2 separate regions of the Homo sapiens genome follow, and region 1 is linked to region 2. Evidence: promoter capture Hi-C in 16 types of primary human blood cells and fetal thymus (Javierre and others, 2016). All regions are on one chromosome and are shown on one strand. Each heading gives the region's core, a stretch centred on a gene start or on the middle of the fragment in contact. The rest is flanking DNA. Distances are from core to core; before and after follow the strand shown.

The links. Contacts are between HindIII fragments. The CHiCAGO score rates a contact against its expected background, and 5 or more counts as called.
Region 1: a fragment that was not itself captured here is called in contact with the fragment with the promoter of STRADA in region 2 in 1 of 17 cell types (naive CD4 T cells); the score reaches 5.0 in naive CD4 T cells.

The regions. Positions count from the first base shown.
Region 1 is chr17:63,418,787-63,424,091 of GRCh38, forward strand. TANC2 (tetratricopeptide repeat, ankyrin repeat and coiled-coil containing 2) reads left to right here. Exons shown (of 28, transcript NM_001394998.1): 28 at 1,213-5,305. The coding sequence ends at 3,169. Among named protein-coding and RNA genes, the nearest start is that of CYB561, 25 kb to the right of the region's middle. The HindIII fragment of the contact is 4,766 bases long and covers 1-4,512 here.
Region 2 is chr17:63,739,304-63,744,870 of GRCh38, forward strand. It overlaps STRADA (STE20 related adaptor alpha), which reads right to left and starts at 2,496. Exons shown (of 13, transcript NM_001003787.4): 1 at 2,438-2,496. RefSeq lists an enhancer at 622-1,121 and silencers at 987-1,155, 2,659-2,778. The HindIII fragment of the contact is 6,891 bases long and covers 1-5,567 here.

The DNA of each region.
Region 1 (5,305 bases), core at 880-3,379, 320 kb before region 2:
GGTTCACTTAACATCACAGGTTCCTCTTCCTTCTCCCATAGGCGTTTGAGGAATCCCGGATTAGTTAGTCTTCCCTCTGGGGCTCTCCTCAAGTCTGGTGGCATCAGACCCCCTTCCACCTAAACCATCACCCACCACACACACACAGAGTCAAGAGGTCCTTGCTGCCAGGATGGAGAGGACCCTCTAAGAGAACACCATTCCACATTCCTTGTGCCCATCTGCTTTAGTTTGGCCACTGGGCAGAAAAGCTCCCAGAATAACCTAGAACCTGCCATCAGTGATCTTTGTGTAACTTGTCACTGTCTCTTATGCCTCCTGCCCTCCTCCTCCCCAGCTGCATGGGAAAGAACTGCTTCAGGTTCACTGCTATGGCCAGGGGCACATGGTCCCGAAAATCACACCCAGCTTGAGGCTAGTGATGGTGGTGGCAGTGATCGCACTCTTACCTAGCTGGGGCAACGAAGTCCTCACAGAAATCTGACTGAAATTCTCCTTCCCTCTGGGTAGTTCCTTTTTCACAAGGTCAGTTGCCCCTGTCAGGTGATATTAGTAGAGAAGATGGGAATGTCTCTGACAGTTCATTTCTTCATTTGTAAATTAGAGTCTCCTTGGAGTCAGCTCAGCTCCAGCCCCGAGTGACCTAGTCAGCAAGCCTAATGCCTGCCCCACTTTGATAGAGCAAATGGAGACACAGCAATTCTGAGAGATGAGGGTTAGAAAGGGCAGAGGACAGGGTTCTTGCCTAGAGTAGAACAGGCCTGAAATTTGGAGCTAAAATATTGAGAATATAAAGAAAAATTTCTGCTGGATCAGCAAGATTTTTAAATATGTAGTTTTTTTTGTTCCTAAGCTACTTGACAGTGACCCTGTAAATGACAACCCCACCCAACTCTCATACTGCCTGGTGTGTGTTTGGGCACCAAAACAACTTCCCGAAGGGCCTGGCTGGACTGACAAAATGGGGCATTTCTCCACTATTCCCAGAGAGGCCAGAAGGAAGATGGAGGCCGAATGGGTTAGGGAATCATTCGGACTCTTCCAGAATGAGTCTTCCTGTTTCCTTCCCTATAAATCCAACTAAACCGAAATACCCCAGACTCCCACAGACGCCACCACAGCTCTCTGAGATAGTGACCATGTTCTCAGCTCTTGGTGATTTCTCTGGATTCAGAATAACTCCAGTTCCTGTGTTCACATTTTGTCAAGCAGACAGTTCGCAGCAGCCTTAGAGGACCTGAACGAGGCCATCAAGCTGTGTCCCAACAACCGTGAGATCCAGAGACTTCTGCTGAGAGTGGAAGAAGAGTGTAGACAGATGCAGCAGCCACAGCAGCCACCGCCGCCACCGCAGCCTCAGCAGCAGTTGCCGGAAGAAGCAGAACCTGAGCCACAGCATGAAGACATATACTCTGTACAGGATATATTCGAGGAGGAGTACCTGGAACAGGATGTTGAAAATGTTTCCATTGGCCTCCAGACAGAGGCCCGGCCCAGCCAGGGGCTCCCGGTCATCCAGAGCCCACCCTCCTCTCCCCCGCATCGGGACTCAGCCTACATCTCCAGCTCACCTCTTGGCTCTCATCAGGTTTTTGACTTCCGGTCCAGTAGTTCTGTAGGCTCTCCCACTAGACAGACCTATCAGTCCACCTCACCTGCCCTTTCTCCAACTCATCAGAACTCACATTACAGGCCTAGCCCACCACACACTTCCCCGGCTCATCAGGGAGGATCTTACCGTTTCAGCCCCCCTCCTGTGGGAGGACAGGGCAAAGAATACCCAAGCCCTCCCCCTTCCCCTCTCCGGAGAGGCCCTCAGTATCGGGCCAGCCCTCCAGCTGAAAGTATGAGTGTCTATAGATCCCAGTCTGGTTCACCCGTGCGCTATCAGCAGGAAACAAGCGTCAGTCAGCTTCCTGGCAGACCCAAATCTCCATTATCCAAAATGGCCCAGCGGCCCTACCAGATGCCTCAGCTCCCTGTGGCAGTTCCCCAGCAAGGGCTCAGGCTACAGCCTGCCAAGGCCCAGATTGTGAGAAGTAACCAGCCCAGCCCAGCCGTCCATTCAAGCACCGTCATCCCCACAGGAGCCTATGGCCAAGTAGCCCATTCAATGGCCAGTAAATACCAGTCTTCACAAGGAGACATAGGAGTCAGCCAGAGCCGGTTGGTTTATCAAGGGTCAATTGGGGGAATCGTAGGGGATGGAAGGCCGGTGCAGCATGTCCAAGCCAGCCTGAGTGCAGGCGCCATCTGTCAGCATGGAGGATTGACCAAAGAGGATCTTCCACAGCGACCTTCCTCAGCATACCGAGGTGGCGTGAGATACAGCCAGACACCACAGATCGGACGCAGCCAGTCAGCATCCTATTACCCAGTCTGTCACTCAAAACTAGATCTGGAGCGCTCCTCCAGCCAACTAGGTTCCCCTGATGTGTCGCATTTAATCAGAAGACCTATCAGTGTCAACCCTAACGAAATCAAACCGCACCCGCCAACTCCCAGGCCGTTGCTGCATTCCCAAAGTGTAGGCCTTCGCTTCTCTCCATCTAGCAATAGTATCTCCTCCACCTCCAACCTAACTCCGACCTTCCGGCCATCTTCTTCCATCCAGCAAATGGAGATCCCACTGAAACCTGCATATGAGAGGTCATGTGACGAGCTGTCGCCAGTGTCTCCAACTCAAGGAGGTTACCCCAGTGAGCCCACCCGATCCAGGACCACACCATTCATGGGGATCATAGATAAAACAGCACGGACTCAGCAGTACCCCCACCTCCACCAGCAGAATCGGACCTGGGCAGTGTCATCTGTGGACACCGTCCTCAGTCCCACGTCTCCAGGCAACCTGCCTCAGCCTGAGTCCTTCAGTCCACCATCATCCATCAGCAACATTGCCTTTTATAACAAAACCAACAATGCACAGAATGGCCATTTGCTGGAGGACGATTATTACAGCCCCCATGGGATGCTGGCTAACGGGTCTCGTGGAGACCTCTTGGAGCGAGTCAGCCAGGCCTCCTCCTATCCCGACGTGAAGGTAGCTCGGACTCTACCTGTGGCTCAGGCATACCAGGACAACCTGTACAGGCAGCTGTCCCGAGACTCTCGGCAAGGGCAGACATCCCCTATCAAACCAAAGAGACCGTTCGTGGAGTCTAATGTTTAAAAGACGTTTTGTTGGAGTGAGACCCATATGTTTTCACTGCACATTTTCAGGCTTGGTTTCCACATTCGAGGTAGTTCTCTGGCTTAATTTCTCATGTAGTTTCTGTGTGGTGTTCAGAGGTGGCAGCCCACATGCTGAAATCCTTTGCATGCAGCCGACTGGGAAGCGGCCTCCCGGGAGCCAGGACTTCAGTTTCTCTTGTCTGTGCCCAGCCACATGCTCTCTCCCTCTCTTCAGATGCCAACGAGGAGATTTTCGTGCTGTGTGCTTTAACCCAGGGAGATCAGACACACTGGTCAGCTTTTTCCAGGAGACAATCGCTTTCACTGATGTTCTTGTTGTGTAATTGTCTTTTTCCTTTTTTAAAAAATAAGGTGTTCTTGTTCGTTTTCTTCTAGAAACTTTAGAAAGAGTGCGATGCCCCTTTGCCTTTGCATCCTTAGCCAGTGTCACCCACACAGCCAGCCGCAGCGCATTCTCATGCTGTGGCCCCTCCCCAGACCGCCAGCGCCCTGCAGCCACCAGGTCTGCAGTGTGCATTAGGATTATTGCTGGTCTTCCTAGGGGGTAAAAGGATCAGAGAGAGAAGAATTAAGTGCTAAATTGGAAGAAAACCCCAATATAATTATGTAAAATGTCACTACATTGATTTTCCAAGAGGCATTGTAGGAACATGTCAAAAACAGCCAGCCCTTTAAATATTGCAGTCAGCCAAGGAAATTAGATGAGAATTGTGGCTATTAAGAGAATTCACTGAGAGTTATTCTCTAGATTTTTAGCCGACAATTAACCACTAAAAGCTGCTGCTTTTCCAGGGTGGGGGAGGGAATGAATACATAGAAAAACAAAAAAGATTGTTCTGGATTCTCAGTGAAAGGCTATAGGAAGTCTGTTCTGGAGACATCTACTTTTTAGATCCTGATACATCACTGAGTGTCATACTCCACTAAAAGGAAACTCTAACCGAAGGCTGGCTGGTGTGACAATCCCGTTAGTTGGATCTTCACCTACAGCCAGATTTTGTTCTAGTGGCCCTCTTCCTGTAAACCCAGATGGTGTCATACAGAAATTGTTTCTTTCAGAAGCAGATTGGAATCTCTTGGGACCATGAGACTGAGTCCCAATATTTCCACCCAGGGTCATGCCCGTTGTTGTCTACTTCCATTTTGAGATCTATAGTTTGATTATCTATTATTACAGGAACTGTTTCTTTTCTTTTTCTAGGAGTGTTTATGAGAGTGTGATATTTTAAAGTCAGACGCAGCAAAAACTGTTTCAGGGTGAAGAAAGACCCCTTTCAGCCCTGTTTTGCAGCCCTGGGTGGGGGCATGAGATAGACAGCAAGCTTCTGATCTTGAAGCTTGTCTAGAAGACACATCTTCTAGGTCTCGTGGTCATTTGGTAGGCTGACCTTTGAGTGAGCGAGGCCACTATTGAGTGGATAGCAAGAACATTGGAACCAAAGCCTCGGCACAGGCCTGGCACTGGCTGTACATCAGCTCTTACAACTAAACAACTCAACTAAGCAACTGAAACGAAACAAAGGAGCATTCGTTCTCTGTTGTTAGGAATCATTCTGCTCTGTTAGGGAAGGGCTGCAGGAAGGGCAGTTTCCTGAATAAAAATCTGGCTGCGACCAGTCCCATGTGTCTGGTAAGTAAGTAAGTAAGTAAGTGCCCTTTGAAGGGATCATTAAGACACAGGGAGCATGAACCTGAGATCAGAAGCATTTCTTTACTAATTTAGATTCTGCGAAATAGACGGACCTCTCCACCCCCAAACCTAAAACAGGCCAGGACTTGTCTCTGTGCTGAAAGCAAATAGCAAGACTAACTCAAGCCCCAGCCTCTTTCCACACTCCCTGATACCTAAGGACTGCTTTCTCAGCTAGACCAGGGTGGGCATCAGCGACGCCTTCTCAGCTAGACCAGGGTAGGCATCAGCGTCCTCTCTCCATCTCTATACCCCTCTCTCTCACATCAGGAAGATGAAATGTGTAGCTCTAGCGGCAACCTCTAGCCAGGAGCCCAGTGGCCTCTCAGATTGCTTTTTGGCCAGGTCTCAGCACTGCTGGCATCTTTACATCTTACTCCTTAAAACCGCCTCTCGCTGAGGAGCCACTGCATTTTGAAGAAT
Region 2 (5,567 bases), core at 1,246-3,745:
TTAGAGTAGCTCTACCTAGTGATTAGCAGTAAATGGTATACAAATTATGAAGGACTTTTCTATTTTCAGATTGAATCATGTACAGATGAACTTGCCCAGGCTGGTCTCAAACTCCTGAACTCAAGCAATCCTCCTGCATCAGCCTCCCAAAGTGCTAGGATTACACCATGCCCGGTTATCTGTATGACATTAACATCATCACTCTGCTCCCTTCAAATTTCCTTAAAATGCAAATGTAAATGTCCTTAAAATGTAAATTCTAATGGAAGGGGAGGGCAGATGGATATCATTCGAAAGATATATCCACACTTATCAAAAATTAAGAAATACATATGTATGTGTATATTATATATTATGCATATATGTATATATTATATATGTACATAGTGTATTAATATGTATACATATATAATTTTATGTGTATATATTATGTATACATATTGATACATTATATATTTATGTATATATGTACATATATACATATAATGTACATAATTATATGTATATACATATAATGTACATAATTATATGTATATACATATAATGTACATAATTATATGGCCCGGGACGGCTGCTCCGACGAAGGCCCGGGCCTGGGGAGATGGAATCGGTGGCAGAGCGAGGAGTGACTGGCTCCGGCAGTGCACCAGGCACCCCGCCAGGCAGGTACCTGTTCCTGGTTTCAAACTCCGGAGCTCAAGCAATCCTACTGCCTCAGTCTCTCAAAGTGCTGGGATTACAGAGGTGGGCCACGGTACCCAGCCTATCAGAAACATTTAACACTATATATATATATATATATATACATACATACATATATATATACACATACATATATATATATACACACACACACACACACACACACACACACACACACAACAAAGCAATATTACTAGTGGACAGACATAGAAATAGCTTTATTGGCCGGGCGCGGTGGCTCACGCCTGTAATCCCAGCACTTTGGGAGGTCGAGGCTGGTGGATCACCTGAGGTCAGGACCTCAGAGATCGGCCTGACCAACATGGTGAAACCCCGTCTCTACTGAAAATACAAAAATTAACCAGGTGTGGTGGGGGGTGCCTGTAATGCCAGCTACTCGGAAGGCTGAGGCAGGATAACTGCTTGTACCAAGGAGGCCGAGGTTGCAGTGAGCGGAGATCGCGCCATTGCATTCCAGCCTGGGGGACGAGGGCGAAACTCCATCTCAAAAAAATTAAAATAAAAATAAAGAGAGAAAATAATAAACCCAGCAAACATTTATGGCAAACTTCCTACGTGTCAGGCACTGTGCTAAATGCTTCATGAGCAGCTCACAAGTATTATCATCTCTGTTTTACGGATCAGGAAATTCAGGTGTGCAGGGAGGTTAAATGCCCAAAGTCACACAGATAAGTGGTAGGGGACTAATTAAATCTGTTCCAAAGCCTGCGCTCTAAAAACCAGAGTAAACTTCCTCCATTTCTGGGGCCACAACTATAAACACTGCATTCCAGCCAAAACACCTCTAAGAAATCTGATTAAAAAGTAGGGGACAGATTTGACCAGTTCAGCACTGTAACTAAAGGCTGAATTCACAGGCTTTTGGCAGGTGATCAAATTTGGTTTCTTCCTTAACTCTCAGGGACAAGAAACAGTCCTGGGTGTCTTCAGGAAGGTATGAGTGTCAATGAAGAATTGTCTTAACGTCGCATATACGTATTGGAACATGCTTCTACTTGAACAGATATTACAATAAGAAAAGGGCAAATTCCAACGGCTCTTTCTCCGGGAAAGTCAAGTTAAAGTATGTTAGGATACAGGAGAAGGCTGGGCAGAGAGGTTAGTTCCCTATTTCCTGAGAACTATGAACAATTTTACCTACCCACTGCCCCTCCCTCGAGCTCTCTTCCTTATCCCCAACCCCCATCTCCGGCGCCCAAATCCCCTGCAGGCACCCAAAAAACATTTCTGGAAAACAAAAAGACAATGAGCTCTTCGTTTAGGCCGATTCTGGGAGTCATCTGGATCTTGTGTCCTTACGAGGACTTGACCCGCTGCCTGTCAGCCCAAAGTGCGCGGCGGCTGGGGACAGCGGGGAGCCCAGGACCGGGGTCGGCCGCCACTCTGCCTGAACAGGACAAACCGGCACCCAGCCCTAGGTTCCCCACCTGGAAGTCCTAGGGGGTGGGGAGGAAGGGGAAAGCAGGAGCCCGCCTCTCTCGCCCGGCAACTCCGCTTCAGCGTCTCCCCGCCAGGCCCAAGCCTATTCTGCTCTCGGGCTGCGGCGCCTCATTGCGGGAGTCGAGGACGCGGGTTAAAAAGGGGGCCCGTGGAGGGTGAGGTGAGCCCAGGATGGCCGCTCCGACGAAGGCCCGGGCCTGGGGAGATGGAATCGGTGGCAGAGCCAGGAGGGACTGGCCCCGGCAGCGTACCAGGCACCCCGCCAGGCAGGTACCTGTTCCTGGAGTTAGCAAGCAGCCCCGACCGTCTTGGCTCCGCCTCCTCAGTTTTACTGCCGCGCCGCCGCCAGACCGGTTGCTGGGAGGGGAGTACGCAACGTGCCATGCGCAGTGGGGCGACCGGGAGGACTGATAGAGCGCTCCGCCCCACCCCGCCCTGCGGGGAAGTCCCGCCCTTTCCGAGTGGCCGCGGCTGCGGCAGGCCCTAGCAGCCGCCGCCGCGCCGAGAGCGGTTCTCAGTTCCCGTTGTCTTTCCCGCCGCGCAGCGCTTCCGCCTACAGCCTCCGCCCCCGCAGCAGGAGGGGGAAGCAGGTGGCTTCAACAATGAAGGACCAGAGAAAGGCAAACTTGGCTGTTCCTGAGAATTGTGTTTTTCTCATTTCATGTGGTAGGACTTCTAATGGAAAACCCGCCTCGCACTTTTCTTGGACGACATCTCAAATGCCCCTCACTTTGGCCTCTCGGGCACCAGACAACAAGCTGCAAAGGGGAAGCCCATCCTTTCTTTGCTCCCCACTATTTGTAAAACAAGGAAAATAGCTCAACTAATGAAAACGATCTTGTCCCCTCAGTATCTTTTTTTTTCCCCCGAAGCCTTCCTCATCCACAGCTGAAGCCGTTTGTGGAAACCTATCAGGTTTGTCCAAGCCAGGTTATGCAGAGCTTGAGAAATGAGGAAGCGATGAACTAAGCCTCACTCCTGTGAGACTAGGTTTTTCAGTGACTTATCCCCCGCGTGCGCAGGAGGGGGTATCCAAAACGCGGATATATACCATCAGGTAATGAACACTCGCTCTTGCCAGCTCTGAGCTTTGACACAGATTTAGACCGTCCTAACTTCCAAGACTGGGGGAGGAGTTTAGCTACATCCAAGTAGGGACTTATAGAAATATGCCCCTGGAAGGCCGGGCGCGGTGGCTCACGCCTGTAATCCCAGCACTTTGGGAGGCCGACGCGGGTGGTTCACTAGGTCAGGAGATCGAGACCATCCTGGTTAATACGGCGAAACCCCGTCTCTACTAAAAGTACAAAAAAATTAGCCGGGCGTGGTGACAGGCGCCCGTAATCCCAGCTACTATGGAGGCTGAGGCAGCAGAATGGCCTGAACCCGGGAGGCGGAGCTTGCAGTGTGCAGAGATCGCGTCACTGCACTTCCAGCCTGGGCGACAGAGCGAGACTCCGTCTCAAAAAAAAAAAAAAAAAAAAAGAAAAAAAGAAATATGCCCCTGAAACTGTGGGACCTGTATGCACATGAGTTCTCATTTGATCTTACATACATCACTTTGATTTTTTTTTTTTTTTTTTTTGAGATGGAGTCTTGCTCTGTTGCCCAGGCTGGAATGCAGTGACGTGATCTGGGCTCACTGCAACCTCTGCCTCCTGGGCTCAAGCAATTCTCCTGACTCAGCCTCCCAAGTCGCTGGGACTACAGGCGCACGCCACAACGCCTGGCTGATTTTTGTATTTTTAGTAGAGACGAGGTTTCACCATATTGGTCAGGCTGGTCTTAAAATCCTGACCTCAGGTGATCCACCAGCCTCGGCCTCCCAAAGTGCTGGGATTACAGGTGTGAGCCATCTGTGCTGGGCCACATCATTTTGATTTTATCGAGTGCTTTGACATTGCTAAGGGCTACCCTCACATGCTCTCATTCTCAAAATAAGATGCCACTCTCAGGAGCAAACTTGGTAAACTCACAAAGCAACAGAGTATAAACAGAGAAGTAAAATTTCTAGCAGTGTTCTACTGAAGGGTCTTTCACATGTGGTCTTTTGGAACCGAGTATTAGAGAGACTGTCTGAAAAGATGCTAAACTTCTTGCAGCCATTACAAATGGGTAGAGAAAACATATTGTCTCAGAACTGTTCTGTTTTAGCAGTCTGTAACAGAAGACACTCCTATGGGTATAACTCTTTTTTTTTTTTTTTTTTTGAGACGGAAGTCTTGCTCTATTGCCCAGGCTGGAGTGCAGTGGTGCAATCTTGGTTCACTGCAACCTCTGCCTCCTGGGTTCAAGCGATTCTCCTGCCTCAGCCTCCTGAGTAGCTAGGATTACAGGTTTGTGCCACCGCACCCGGTTAATTTTTGTATTTTTAGTAGAGACGGGGATTTGCCATATTGGCCAGGCTGGTCTTGAACTCCTGACCTCATGTGATCTGCCTGCCTCGGCCTCCCAAAGTGCTGGGATTACAGGCATGAGCCACCGCGCCCGGCCTCTTGTCTCTCTTACATCGTTTCACATCATTCAAAATGAGAGGAGGCAGGAATGGTAAGGAATGAGAACCTGGGATGATAAAGCACAGTGTTTCACCTCTTCCTGCCAAATCCACTGGATTCTTGTACAACACAATTCTAAACAATTCCTACTGAATTGCCAATTCCTACTGAATGGGTGGAATAAGAAATCAATGTTTTTCTTTGGTCTAAATTCCATCTAAAGAAAGGAGTTAGGGCCAGGCGCACTGGCTCACGCCTGTAATCCCAACACTTTGGGAGGCCGAGGTGGGTGGATCACGAGGTCAGGAGATCGAGACCATCCTGGCTAACACAGTGAAATCCCATCTCTACTAAAAATATAAAAAATTAGCAGGGCGTGGTAGCACACATCTGTAGTCCCAGCTACTCTGGAGGCTGAGGTAGGAGAATTGCTTGAACTTGGGAGATGGAGGTTGCAGTGAGCCGAAATTGCACCACTGCACTCCAGCCTGGGCAACACAGTGAGACTCCATCTCAAAAACAAAAAAAAGAGGAGTTTCACATCTGGTCTTTACAGGAAAAGGTTTGCTACTACTAAGGAAACAGAATCATAAGCTACTCCCCTCTTCCTCAAAAAATACCCTATCAATTTTTGCAGATAAAGAACTCTGAAAGGATCTGCTTGGTTTCCATTGGGAGAAAGAAAAGCAAAAGAGAGTAAAGCAAGAATGCATCACTTGGAGACCAGTCCTAGATGATGCCTTATACTTGCAAAGTGCTTAAACAGTTTACAAAACAATCTCACATATATATTTTCTCTTAGTGTTCAACTACCTGTGAAGCAGGCAGGGCAAATAATTACTATCCTCACTTCACATTAGGTTAATAACTTGCCGAAAGTCAAAGGATTAGTAATTAGTTCTGCTGGCA